Linked DNA regions of Homo sapiens: regions 1 and 2 are each linked to region 3. Evidence: promoter capture Hi-C in 16 types of primary human blood cells and fetal thymus (Javierre and others, 2016). All regions are on one chromosome and are shown on one strand. Each heading gives the region's core, a stretch centred on a gene start or on the middle of the fragment in contact. The rest is flanking DNA. Distances are from core to core; before and after follow the strand shown. Region 1 overlaps PGD (phosphogluconate dehydrogenase). Region 2 overlaps TMEM201 (transmembrane protein 201). Region 3 holds the start of CTNNBIP1 (catenin beta interacting protein 1).

The links. The method cuts DNA at HindIII sites, captures the fragments that hold promoters and counts their contacts. A CHiCAGO score of 5 or more calls a contact.
Region 1: a fragment that was not itself captured here is called in contact with the fragment with the promoter of CTNNBIP1 in region 3 in 5 of 17 cell types (erythroblasts, fetal thymus, total CD8 T cells and 2 more); the score reaches 8.1 in erythroblasts.
Region 2: a contact is called between a fragment that was not itself captured here and the fragment with the promoter of CTNNBIP1 in region 3, in 4 of 17 cell types (total B cells, activated CD4 T cells, naive CD8 T cells and 1 more). The highest score is 5.8, in total B cells.

What each region holds. Positions count from the first base shown.
Region 1 is chr1:10,414,470-10,418,492 of GRCh38, reverse strand. It overlaps PGD (phosphogluconate dehydrogenase), which reads right to left. Exons shown (of 13, transcript NM_002631.4): 9 at 1,376-1,506; 10 at 984-1,117. Among named protein-coding and RNA genes, the nearest start is that of CENPS, 14 kb to the left of the region's middle. The HindIII fragment of the contact is 991 bases long and covers 1,919-2,909 here.
Region 2 is chr1:9,588,975-9,593,092 of GRCh38, reverse strand. It overlaps TMEM201 (transmembrane protein 201), which reads right to left. Exons shown (of 11, transcript NM_001130924.3): 1 at 4,050-4,118. Among named protein-coding and RNA genes, the nearest start is that of TMEM201, 2.1 kb to the right of the region's middle. RefSeq lists silencers at 3,737-3,806, 3,967-4,118. The HindIII fragment of the contact is 1,546 bases long and covers 1,813-3,358 here.
Region 3 is chr1:9,907,180-9,911,742 of GRCh38, reverse strand. CTNNBIP1 (catenin beta interacting protein 1) reads left to right here and starts at 1,474. Exons shown (of 6, transcript NM_020248.3): 1 at 1,474-1,648. RefSeq lists enhancers at 1-205, 206-879 and silencers at 1,027-1,626, 1,637-1,696, 1,867-1,926. The HindIII fragment of the contact is 9,783 bases long and covers 1-4,563 here.

The DNA of each region.
Region 1 (4,023 bases), core at 1,165-3,664, 510 kb before region 3:
ATGCAATGAATCTTAACTCTAACAGGGAAGTAAGCTGGAAGCCGATGTATACCCTAGTGAAACAAAGTTACATTTCTCATTTCTTCAAGCTGTTAACCCTTTTCCTGTTTAGAAAAAAAGTGCAGCTCGCTGCCAGCGCTCATTTAATTTTACATAAACACGCTTTTTGAGGCTGAAGAAAATCTGACGATTTTCAATATGAAAATAAAATATAAAAACTATTCTTGGCGTTATTTCTAAAGAGAACTAATATTAGAATCATCTGAATCACCAGAATCATCTACTTCAGAAAAATCAGATTCATCAAATGAATCTTCAGCCAACATGAGAACGATGTAACGTCATGTGTAGAAATGCTACGTTTTCTATGATTTGGCATTTTCAATGAAAATACAGAGCAAAATTCCCAAGAGGCAAGGCCAGAGGGCACGATAGTTCACAGAAGTACTTTAAAAGGTGTAGTGTAGTAGGTGTAATGCGGAGCCGGGCGCAGTGGCTCACGCCTGTAATCCCAGCACTTTGGGAGGCTGAGGCGGGCAGATCACCCAAGGCAAGGAGTTCGAGACCAGCCTGGCTAACATGGTGAAACCCTGTTTCCACTACAAATACAAAAGAATTAGCCGGACATGGTGGCGTGCCCTTGTAATCCCAGTTACTTAGGACGCTGAGGCAGGAGAATCACTTGAACCCGGGAGGCAGAGGTTGCAGTGAGTCAAGATCGCATCATGGCACTCCAGTTTGGGCAATAAGAGCGAAACTTGGTCTCAAAAGAAAAAAAAAGGTGTAGTGTGGACAATCTAGTTACAGCAACTGAGGTACAGTGAAGAAGGGAACCACATAATCTAAGCCTATCTTGTGCCAGTGTCCAGTGATGGGGCTAAGTGCCCATCCCTGGAAACTGCTCAAGCTAAGTGTCCTAAGATCGCACTTCTGCACAGCCGTGTGAGTCCTTCCCGTCGGACCCTGGGCTGCCTCTCACTTACCTTCTAATGATGCAGCCCCCTCTCCACATCAGGGCGATGCCACCATAATTGAGAGTCCAGCCAAACTCGGTGGCTGCCTGCCTTAGCAGCATAAAGCCTTGAGCGTAAGAGATGATCTTGGAAGCGTAGAGTGCCTAAAGAGTGACACAGAGACCTACTAGGATTGCCATTAGGAGAGTGACCGCCTTATGTCTACCAGTCTTATTCTCATCAGCAGTGGAGATCCCAGAAGGGCCAATATTCTAGGAAAACATTGTAAGTCAAGATCCAAGTCAAGGCTGAACTTCATTCCACCTGCCATCCTGTGGCCTCGAGTGTTCTCCCACCACAACCCCCACCCCCACTGCCTTCCGCAGGACCAACAAAGACCACTGCCAGGGACTGTGTCCCACCTTCCGAATGTCCTCCAGGAATGATTTCTTATCACCATCAAACTGGAACTTCTGGGGACCCTTCAGCTTTTTGCTAGCTTGAATTCTCTCATCCTTCAGAGATGATAAGCACCGAGCAAAGACAGCTTCTCCTACATGGGGAGATCGGGAAGAGGAAACAGATTACTGTCAGGCCTCTGAGCCCAAGCTAAACTATCATATCCCCTGTGACCTGCATGTATACATCCAGATGGCCTGAAGCAAGTGAAGAATCACAAAAGAAGTGAAAATGGCTGGTTCCTGCCTTTACTGATGACATTCCACCATTGTGATTTGTTCCTGCCCCACCTTAACTGAGCGATTAACCTTGTGACATTCCTTCTCCTGGCTCAGAACCTCCCCAACTGAGCACCTTGTGACCCCTCGGCCCTGCCCGTAAGAGAAAAACCCCCTTTGACTGTAATTTTCCACTACCTGCCCAAATCCTATAAAATGGCCCCACCCCTATCTCCCTTCGCTGACTCTTCGGACTCAACCTGCCTGCACCCAGGTGATTAAAAAGCTTTATTGCTCACACAAAGCCTGTTTGGTGGTCTTTTCACACGGATGCGCATGAAAATTACCAAAGTTCGCACAGCAACCAGAAGAAAGGTGGAGCAGGAAAGTCTGTTTATACAAAGAGCTGAAAGTTTCAACCTTAGGCCACAAAAGTTGACATGGATCGGAAGGAACTTTTATAAGAAGCTCTAAACAGTTAATTTGATAACTAAAACTCTTAAGACAATCTTCCAATACAAACATGAGTATTCAATCACAAAGATTAACATGAAATTCAAAAGGGAGTTTTGAGGGAAAATGAAGAGATAGAAACCACTGTTATGGCTGGGCAAGGTGGCTAACACCTGTAATCCCAGCACTTTGGCAGGCTGAGGTGGGAGGATCACTTGAGCCCAGGAGTTCAAGGCTACAGTGAGCCATGATCACACCACTGCTCTCCAGCCTGGGCAACACAGTGAGACCCTGTCTCTAAAACCAGTAAAATAAAATAAAAACCACTGTTATGTAGAATACTCAGTGTTGGTCCATGAGTAAAATTTCAAATTCAATTTAGAGGACCTTAATTTTTTTTTTTGAAGATTTTACATTGATAAGTCACATTTACGGACTCACCTCTCAAAAAAATGTTAGGTTTTTATATTTTACGGTTTTCAGTATAGCCGTAATCATTCAAGTTTAACCACTTTACTTCATTTGAATTAAAAAGTCAATGTAGTATTTTAATATTAAGACATTTAGTATTTTCAGAAAGTATTCCTTATAAAAGACTTGCTCAACTGACAACTTATAGTTAGAATAAATGACTCTTTAACCACTTTTTCCCCCATAGACAAAATGAAGTAAAATCTCAGGGAACTAACAGAGGACTTTATTTCTGAGGAAAGAGGAGCAGCTATGGCTTGAGACTGCTAACCCTACTCCAAACACACAAAAGCAGCTACCTCTCTCCTGGCCCAAATGCACACACAGGATGACTTAGCATTTCTAGAAGGAAGCTTTGTAAGATGACTGGTGCAACAGGCTATGAGGCAAACCCTTCCTGTTAGAGGGGGAGAGGGCAGCTGGAAGACTTCCCTGTTAGTTCACAAATAATGATGGCTCCCAGCAGGGGGTGGGCCCAGCCACCCTGGGGGAAGAGGTATATGGATCCACAGGAGGAGAGTAGGATTCTGAGATCCTAATACTTACACATATACTTGAGTCCGTGATGAATAAATTGCTCCTAGCTATTGGCCCCTCCCTCCTCACCTATGTTATGGCTCAGATCGGCTAAAAGCAGCCAACTTCCTTCTATACAGCACGGAACTGTAGAAACCACCGACTTTCCTCCTTACTCTGCCTTACACCACACAGTTCAATAGGGCGAGGCACAATGAACAGGGAGGTCAAAAGGGGAGAAGAGTCAAGGGAGAGAAAGGCAACCTGTATCCAGAGGAGCAAACAGGAAAAATTCTGTTTTATTATTTTTGAGATGCTTCTTTTTTTTTTTTTAGGCGGAGTCTTGCTCGGTCGCCCAGCCTGGAGTGCAGTGGTGCGATCTCAGCCCACTGCAAATTCCGCCTCCCAGGTTCAAGTGATTCTCCTGCCTCAGCCTCCTGAGTAGCTGGGATTACAGGCACGGGTCACTATGCCTGGCTAACTTTCGTATTTTTAGTAGAGATGGGGTTTCGCCATGTTGGTCAGGCTGGACTCAAACTCCTGACCTCGTGATCCGCCCACCTCGGTCACCCAAAGTGCTGGGATTACAGGCGTGAGCCACCGCGCCTGGCCCAATTCTGTTTTAATATAGTGAGAACAATCTGCCAGAAGCAAAGATCAGCCTCTCATTAACCACGAGAGGCATCCTTCGTTCTCCTTTTTCATTCCTGCCAGAAGTCTATGTATTTTACTCTTAGAACCACCTTTGCTGGGCATGGTGGCTCACGCCTGCAATCCCAGCACTTTTGGAAGCCGAGGCGGGCAGATCCCCTGAGGTTAGGAGTTCGAGACCAGCCTGACCAATATGGTAAAACCCCGTCTCCACTAATAACACACAAAAATTAGCCAGGCATGGTAGCGCATGCCTGTAATCCCAGCTACTCGGGAGGCTGAGGCAGGAGAATCACTTGAAC
Region 2 (4,118 bases), core at 1,336-3,835, 320 kb after region 3:
TTTCCCTGATAAACCCCTCAGCCCACTTCTCTTCTGCAAGCCAACAACCTCCGTCCTTAACTTGACTCTGGGACAAACCACAGTTGGTGGGCAAGGTTTGAGGTAACGTGACAGAATGTCCCTGCAACACAAGCAAGAGAGGAGCTCGGGCCTGGAGGGGCTGCCCCTGCCCACAACGGTTCCAGCTCTGGGGGGACAGCAGCTGGCCCTATGGGTCCCATTTGATGGGTGGACACGAGGGCCTGGAGGCCACTATCTCGGCTCCTGCTAGCTCGATGCCGAGCCCCTGGGAAGCCTGAGGAAGCCCGGAGGGAGATGGGTCCCTAAGAAAAAGCTAGGGCAGCTGCATGCTCTGTACCTGCCCCGTCCACAAGCCCAACATACACACTGAGGGAAAACAAGACGGGCACGTGTCCTTAATGATGACACCACTCCAGAGCCCTGAGCACGGACATGTATTGAAACAAAGCTCCTGCGGGATGCCTCACTATTCCCTGCAGGTGGGAGGGGCTCTGTTCTAGGTGCGAGCCCAGCGCTGGGTCCTCAGCCTAGGAAAGCACCAGGTAGGGGGAACCTGCTAGAGGGGGCACTGGATGGGGCTTGGTCCCTGCCCTGGGGAGCTCAGTGGTTGTAGCAGGCTGGCCAGCTCCCAGAGTCTCTGCCCAGCCCTGGGAAATCATCACCTCCTCAGACAGGGGCCTTAGCACATTGCTCAGGACCTGGGACACTGTGTGCTGGCCCCAGTGCGGGGTTGGAAAGACTGTAAGAGTCAGGTTCCCTCAGGGGCCAGGGAGCCAGAGGCCAGCCTCCCAAGCAGCTCCTCACCTGCACTTCCCGCTTAAGTGGGCAACACCGTGTTTCATTCAACCAGAAGGACCAGAGAAGAGGCCTCCTGGGCTTCAGCGACAGAAGCATCAAAATGCAACTCAGAACTTAGCACTGCCAGGGCCTCCAGCCCATCTCCAAGCAAAACATACTTGAATCCACAGCAGCAACTCCAACATCAGGATGGAAAACGCCCCAATCCACCATTCTAGGGTCGCTCCTGGTGCGAGCGGAACATCCCATCAGTTAAGCAAGCACCACCCTAGGCTGGCAGAGATGCAAACGTGAGCAAGACAAGAACGACGACCTCCCAGGGCAGCTGGTGACAGATACCACAGGACAGAGGCCAATAAGCGGGGCATCTGCGGTCGCCCTGAAGCACAGCTGTGCTCACCAGCAGGGCAGACGGCAGAGGGAGGGGACCACCCAACGTATGCCCGGGGTGCGGCGGTTGCTCAGGGAGAGTGCGCAGCAGCAGGAGAGTGAGTGGGAGGGGGGAGCCTGGAAACGGGAAGGGCCGTTACAGGGGACTCTGACTTCCAGAATGAGGCTCTGCTGCATATCCTCTGGGAGGCTGCATCCTCTTTGTCCCCAAACACTAGAAAGGAGACAATCCCAGTAAACACCAACAAAGCCCCGGAGGCGGGGCGGTGGTGTGTGCAGGGATGTGCTGGCAGAGCACGGATCCTGGGCATCGTTTGAAGAGGGCTGAGGACAGGCACCCGAGCAGCAGCGTCCAGGGGACAGGGAGGCCTAGGAAGCCACAGACTTCACGACGGCCTGGACACAGGGAAGTGAAACTGGGGCATCTGCCCCCCAACTGTGCCGACCGTGGTGGCTTCCCATAGGTGCAGAGAAGCAGCCAAGGGGCTCCATGAGCACCCAGAGGTTGAAGCTGGGCTGACAAGCTGAAGTTCTGGTGCGAGGCAGGGCCCTGCCATTTAACAGCCGGGTGATGTGGGGCAGGTAGCCCAACCTCCCCAAGCTTTGGTTTCCTCATCTGTAAAATGGGAGAACAGTAGAGCCCGCCCTGGCAGTTTCATGAGGAGACAGTGTGCTGTGCTTACAGCCATCAGCTGCTCCCATCAGTAACAACCATGGAAGCGAGAGGACTCCATGCGTGGGGAAGCCAGGGCGGGCCCTGACTGAGGCTGTGGGAGGACTCAGTCCTTCAGAGAAGCAGCCTCCTTCCCATGCGCCTCAGCCAGTCCTAAAGCACAAGGTGGGGCTGACCTGCCCACTCCCTCTACATCTTCCTCTCTGTCCATCTCTGTGCTGAGCCTGCAAACACCCACCCAGCCAAGTCGCCTTCCAAAAACAGCTCTCCTTACATGCCCTCCCGAGGGTCATTCAAAACCTACACTGCAGCCAGAGTCAATGCTTGGTTCCTCACTGTCACAGCACTCTCCTCCTCGGAGGAAGGCTCAACCTCTTGCTAGGTTGGTCTGGCTTCTGAATCGTGACAGTGGCCAATTTATGACCTCCAGGTGAAACCCAGTGCTCTATGAGGACATCTTAAAGCATCCTGGGAAAGGCTGGCCCTTCTCGGCCCAATCAACAGCAAGGGTCTCAATGCCACACCGTGACCTGCTGGTGTCGTCAGGGGCGTGAAAGGACTTCCAGGCACCCTCCTAGTTCCCCTGGCACCAGCTAGCCCAATATCTCTCCAAGGCCCCAGACTCTTGTTTCCAGGAGATGGAGAGCTGTGGCCAGCAGGGCAGGAAGGGGAGACAGCATCCCTGAGGACAGCTGCAGTGTGTGGCACAGTGAGCCACCCAGTCCAAGTCCAGCCTCAATAAACACAACGGAGGTGCTGTGTGGCTGGCAGACTATCCCCTCCCCCAGGCTCTCATCCTTGAGGCAACACCCCCCATCCTGGGTTAGCTGAGAGGCGGCTTCGTCCAGGAAGAACACCGGGTGCTGGACCAGCTCAGCTGGCAACATGCTCTGGGAATGTGAGCAAATCACCTGAGGTCTCTGGACCTCGGTCCCCTGGGTATAAAACCACCGGCTTGGACAAGCTGGTCCTGCAGATGCTCAACTTCCAGGAATCCAGCAGAAACCGACATGGAGAGACTTGGGTTGTCAGGGACCTCTGGGCTGGGGTCACTCAATCCCCAGCTACCCTCCTCAGTCACATCTGGCCCATCCTCCAGACACAGCTGATGTCCCTCCCATGCCTTCCTCCTCTGGGAAGCCTCTGTGACTCAACCACCTGTACTTCTTTTTCCCCGTTTCCCCCCTGGAGGAGAGAAGCAGCACCGGTATGTGTTAAGGAAGAACAAACAGACCAGCCAGACGATCAGGGTTCAAACCCCAGCTCTGCCACTTGCTGCTGAGTGGGCAAGTCCCTTCTCCCCTTTTTCCTAAGGGTGTGAGCTCATTGCATCCCTTGCCGAAGCTGCAAACCCATCCACTCTTTCTAGGATGTTCTCACAACCCCACTTTCCCCCCTGCCCTCTGGAAAGGTGGATCAAGTGGAGAAACAGTAAGCTACCTGCGAGGCTCTGCTGAAGCAACAGGCCACTAAGCTTTTATGCCTGGCGATGGAGGCCGATGAAAGAGGCCGGATCTGAACCCGGGGGCCCGCATGGCCCGTGAGCCGGGCAGGGAGGAGGGTGGCCCCGGCCCGTCTTGAACTGTTTGGAGGCATCTCAGGCCTTGCCCACCTCTGGGAGGCAGCCCAGCCTCGGGGTCTGCCCTGCAGATTCCATCGGCTCAAACCATGATTCCTCTCATTAACAGCAAGTTACTGAGCCTCCCTGTCCCTCAGCTGCTCTAGCGTAAGCAGGGGCTGTGGCTCTGAAACGCGCGGATGCGAGGCGTGTAGAAAAACGCCCGGGACGTCACATGCCGAGCAGCAACCGCCAGCCGCGATCGCCAGCATCGCCGTGCACCGGGGCCCAGCACGGGGCTGAGGGCAGGGGCGGCCCGTGCGCACCGGCTCCAGCCCCCCGCGGCTCCCGGAGGAAGTTTGTGGCCCCCGCGCGGCGCTCTCGCCCGCGCCCCACGTTCCCGGAGTCCCCGCCGCTCCACTCGACTCCGCAGCCGCTTCCCGACTGCAGTCTCAACCCGGTCTCGGGGGGCGGCGGCGCGCGCCGGGGGTCTCCGCGCGCCCGCGGGCAGCCCGGGTCCCGGCCGAGGGGGGCAGCGGGCCGGGGCGGCGCGGGGGCGGGCCTGGCGGGCGGCGCAGAGGGCCGCGTGGGGCCGAACCATGCACTCACCTCCGCGCGATCCGGTAGAGCAACACGCCGGCCGCGGCGCACGCCGTGACCCCCAGGCCGCCGGCCAGG
Region 3 (4,563 bases), core at 225-2,724:
AGTATGAAAAAGTGTGAGCAGGCCGGGTGCGGTGTCTCAGGCCTGTAATCCTAGCATTTTGGGAGGCCGAGGCGGGCAGACCACTTGGGGTCAGAAGTTGGAGACCAGCCTGGCCAACATAGAGAAAACCCGTCTCTACTAAAAATACAAAAATTAGCCGGGGCGCATGCCGGTAATCCCATCTACTCAGGAGGCTGAGGCAGGAGAATCGCTTGAACCCGGGAAGCGGAGGTTGCGGTGAGCCAAGATCGCGCCACTGCACCTGAGCCTGGGCGACAGAGCGAGACTCCCTCTCAAAAACAAAAAAACCCCCCAAATGAGTAAAGAGTAATGTGGATATTATATTATAAACGAACAAACAAAAAAGGACTTCGTATTCTTTTTGCATAGGGAAGGGGAAGAAATGTGGAGTGGAAGAGGATGGTACAGAAAAGGTGTAAAAAGAAAGGCTGTGGGAGGAGTAGGGTAGGAGGGCTTCTGAACTGGGGTTAGTGTCACACTGTGTAACTGATAATTTAAACTGCTGAAAATGAGACCACACTTAAAGATACAGGTCCCTTTAAAAGGAAGGCGGATGTTAAAAGCAATTTGCATTTTACCTAAAATGGGCTGCTTCTCCCTGTACCCTCTCCAAATACAGCCAGACTTTCTGTAGAAACATTTTAATCATGGGCACCCTTCCCCCGAAAAATCCACTCACTACCAGTACACACGACCTTCTGAGTTTAATGGACCTACGGAGGCCCATCCCTGGGCTCTCTGGGCTAGGTTAATCCCAGGTTAGGCCCCAAGCTCAGAGGTAGCAACGTTCCCAGCTCAACGACGCAGGAAGACCACGCCTCTAAATGTTCTGCAACCTCGTCCATTTCAGAATTTTCCGGGGTTCTGGGTAAACTGGCCTCACCAAGGATTCTGCCCCGTCTTGTTGCTCCCGTTTTTAAACACAGACCGGTGTGTGGGAGAGGCCATTATTTTTCCGGAACACTGTGCTCCTGGAGCAGATAGGGACACGCAGAGTGGCTTTACCGCAGCGCCAGCTTCAGCCTTACCCGGCTCCTCCTCCAGGCCACCGCCTCCTCCTCGCGCCCAACCCGCCTTCCCTGCTCACCCCCGGCCCGCTCCTCCCCTTTGCTCTCAGCGCGGACTCGGCCACTCACTACCGGCGCCGTGTTCCACCCGCCCACCGCATGGCCCCGTCCCTATGTCGCTGGTCTCGCCCCCTTCCAGGAGGGCCCAATGAGCGTTCACATGCGCCACAAGGCCCCGCCCCGCACCGCGCAGCCCCGCCCACAGGCTGAGTTAACCAATTCGCGGCCCCGGGCCCCGCCCCGCCCGCAGGCCCCGCCCCGGCGCCCGGCCCCACGCGCCCGCCTCCCTCCGGGGCGTTGCCGCCGCCGCGCCTCAGCAGCCCGCGCGGAGCCAGATGCCGCCCCCTCCGCCGGTCCCTCCCCCGGCGGCCTGGCGCCTCCCTCCCTCCCCACCGCGGTGACTCTCGGAGCGGGAGGCGGAGGCTGAGGCGGCCGCTCCTGCTGCTGCTACTGCCGCCGCCGCAGCGGCTGCTCGGGCTGAGCACGCCCCGGAACAGGCCGCCGCGCGCTGCGCGCCGGACCCGCTGCCCCTGCCGGCCCGGCCGGGTCGGGCGGCCCAGGTAAGCGCCGAGGCCGGGCCGCGCCTGCACCGCCCGGGCCCGCGCCGCGCCGCGCCGGGGCTTGGGGGAGCGGCCAGCCCTTTGTCTGCCGGGGAGGGGCCGCGGAGAGCGCCCCCGACCCCGCTCGGACCCCTGACTGCCCCAGCGGCGCGGCGCCCTGGTCTGGGCCTGGCCGCCTCTCGCCGCAGACCACCTCCCGCCTCCCTGACTCTTCGCCCGGGGGTCGCCTCCACAGGTGTCCGCGCCGCCCACCTTGTTGCTCACCTCACCGCGTCCGGGTGCCTGTCATCGCCCGTCCGCCCTCCCGACCTCTGGGCCCCTGCCTCTTCCCTCACCTGCGCCCACTCTGAGACTCTTACTCTCCATATTTCCCCAAACTAAACGCTGGGCCGCCCTTCCTCCCTCTGTAGTTTGATTGAACTGTCGTCTCCCGATTCCACCCCTCCCCGGTGAGCCTTCCTGGAAGGTACCTGGTGGGGGCACATATCTCACCTGGATGGCGGGCGTGTATGCACGAACCTGCAAAATTAACCACCTGGAGCCCCAAACTGCACCTCTCACCTCCTTTTCATCACCCCACCCCAACCACCTTCCTTTTTTTGGAACCTGGTAACCGAGACACTCAGGTCTGGACACCCAGCCTCTGCTAGGCCCTCCATCCCTCCCTCTGCCTTGTGAGCTGAACTTGTCTGAGCAGTGCCTGTTGTCAGGTTAGCCCCTGGGAAGGCGGCGGGGGCCGTGTTGGCCGCAAATCAAGAGTTTTATGAATAATGAGACGTGTGGCTTGCACCACCTCCTGTCTGAGGATCTCAGTATGCTCCAGCTGTGAATTATTTTGTCTCCTGTCACTCACAGAACTGAGAGGAACATGTCTGGCCAACTGCTGGGTAAATTGAGGTACAGGGTGTGTGGGTAAGGGACCTGGAGGCAAGTCATGGTTTGTCTTGAAGTTCTGTTCGCAGGAGCCTTGGCTCTTAGCTCCCTGCTACAACCACTGGGCTCCAGTTCCTGGAGTGTGTCCCCAAGTGATAACTGATCTCTTGTGCCATTAAAATGTCCAGAGATACCAGCAGCTTCCTCAGATTTAAAGTAGGACTTTGGATCATAAATAAAGGTGCGGGCTGTTAAATGCCAATGTGTCATTCACGGTTTGCTGGGGGAGTTCGTGGTCCTCCCTTGTAAATACAAATCACCTCTATGGGATGGAGATTCATTCATTCAGTAGTGAGCATTTACTATGTGCCAGGCACCGTTCCAAGTACTGGGGCTTTAGTGGTGAAGACAGACACGGTTTCTGCCCTCCTCAGAGATGACATTTTAAAGAGGAGGAAAGTCAGACAATAAGTGAGTAAACAAACAAGTGGACAAAATAATTTCAGTAGTGGTAAGTGCTATGAAGATGGAGAGGGGCCAGATTACATATAAGAATCTGTGGCCGGGCGCGGTGGCTCACGCTTGTAGTCCCAGCACTTTGGGAGGCCGAGGCGGGCGGATCACGAGGTTAGGAGATCGAGACCACGGTGAAACCCCATATCTACTACAAATACAAAAAATTAGCTGGGCGTGGTGGTGGGCACCTGTAGTCCCAGCTACTCGGAGAGGCTGAGGCAGGAGAATGGCGTGAACCCGGGAGGTGGAACTTGCAGTGAGCCGAGGTCACGCCACTGCACTCCAGTCTGGGCGACAGAGCGAGACTCCGTCTCAAAAAAAAAAAAAAAAAAAAAGAATCTGTGGATCAGGGCGGACTCAGTGGTTCATGCCTGTAATCCCAGCACTTTGGGAGGCCAAGGCGGGCAGATCACGAGGTCAGGAGTTCGAGACCATCCTGACCAACATGGTGAAACCCTGTCTCTACTAAAAATACAAAAATTAGCTGAGCGTGGTGGTGCATGCCTGTAGTCCCAGCTACTTGGGAGGCTGAGGCAGGAGAATTTCCTGAACCTGGGAGGCGGAGGTTGCGGTGAGCCGAGATTGCGCCACTGCACTCCAGCCTGGGCAACAGAGCAAAACTCCGTCTTGGGCGGGGGTGGAGAAAAAGAACCTGTAGATCAAAACAAAGATTTTGTAGGTCGTAATAAAGAGTTTGGATTTTATTCCAAGAACAGTTAGAGGCCATTGGAGGGTTTTAAGCAGAGAAAGAATAAAGTCTGATTTGTTCCAAAAGATTGTTCTGGCCACTGTGTAGAGACTGGATTCTAAGGAGCAAAGGTGGAGGCAGGAATACCAGTTATGAGACAGACTATTGCAGCTGCCTGGCAAGAGATGATGGTGGCTTGAGGGATCGGGGCAGTGGCAGTGGAAACGAAGAGGTGGAATCAGTCTGTTCCCTCTGGGAGAGCTGCAAAGCAAAACTTTGGAGACTGAGAGTTAGATGTCCCATAACAACGTGCTCACAGAACAGGTCCCCGCCTCCTTGATTGGAGAGGGTTTGTGGGTTTAAAAACCAGTTAGAGGTGGAGGAGGGCATAATACACTGGGTTTCATTCCCACATCCGGTTGTATTGTTTAAATGGGAACATTACTGCCACTGTTGGAAGATGTTGCACCAGGAAATTGGGCCTGTTCTCATGGTAGGTAGGAGAATGTTTCAGTGGCCACAAACTTGAGCTATTAATGAGAATGAGGCCAGGTGCAGTGGCTCACCCCTGTATATGCCAACATTTTAGGAGGCCAAGGCGGGCGGATCACCTGAGGTCAGGAGCTCAAGACCAGCCTGGGCAACATGGTGAAAACCCGTCTCTACTAAAAATACAAAAATCAGCTGGGCATGATGGCGAGTGCCTGTAATCCCAGCTACTCGAGAGGCTGAGGCAGGAGAATCGCTTGAACCAGGGAGGTGGAGGTTGCAGTGAGCCAAGATCGTGCCACTGCACTCCAGCCTGGGCGACGGAGGAAGACTCTGTCTCAAAAACAAA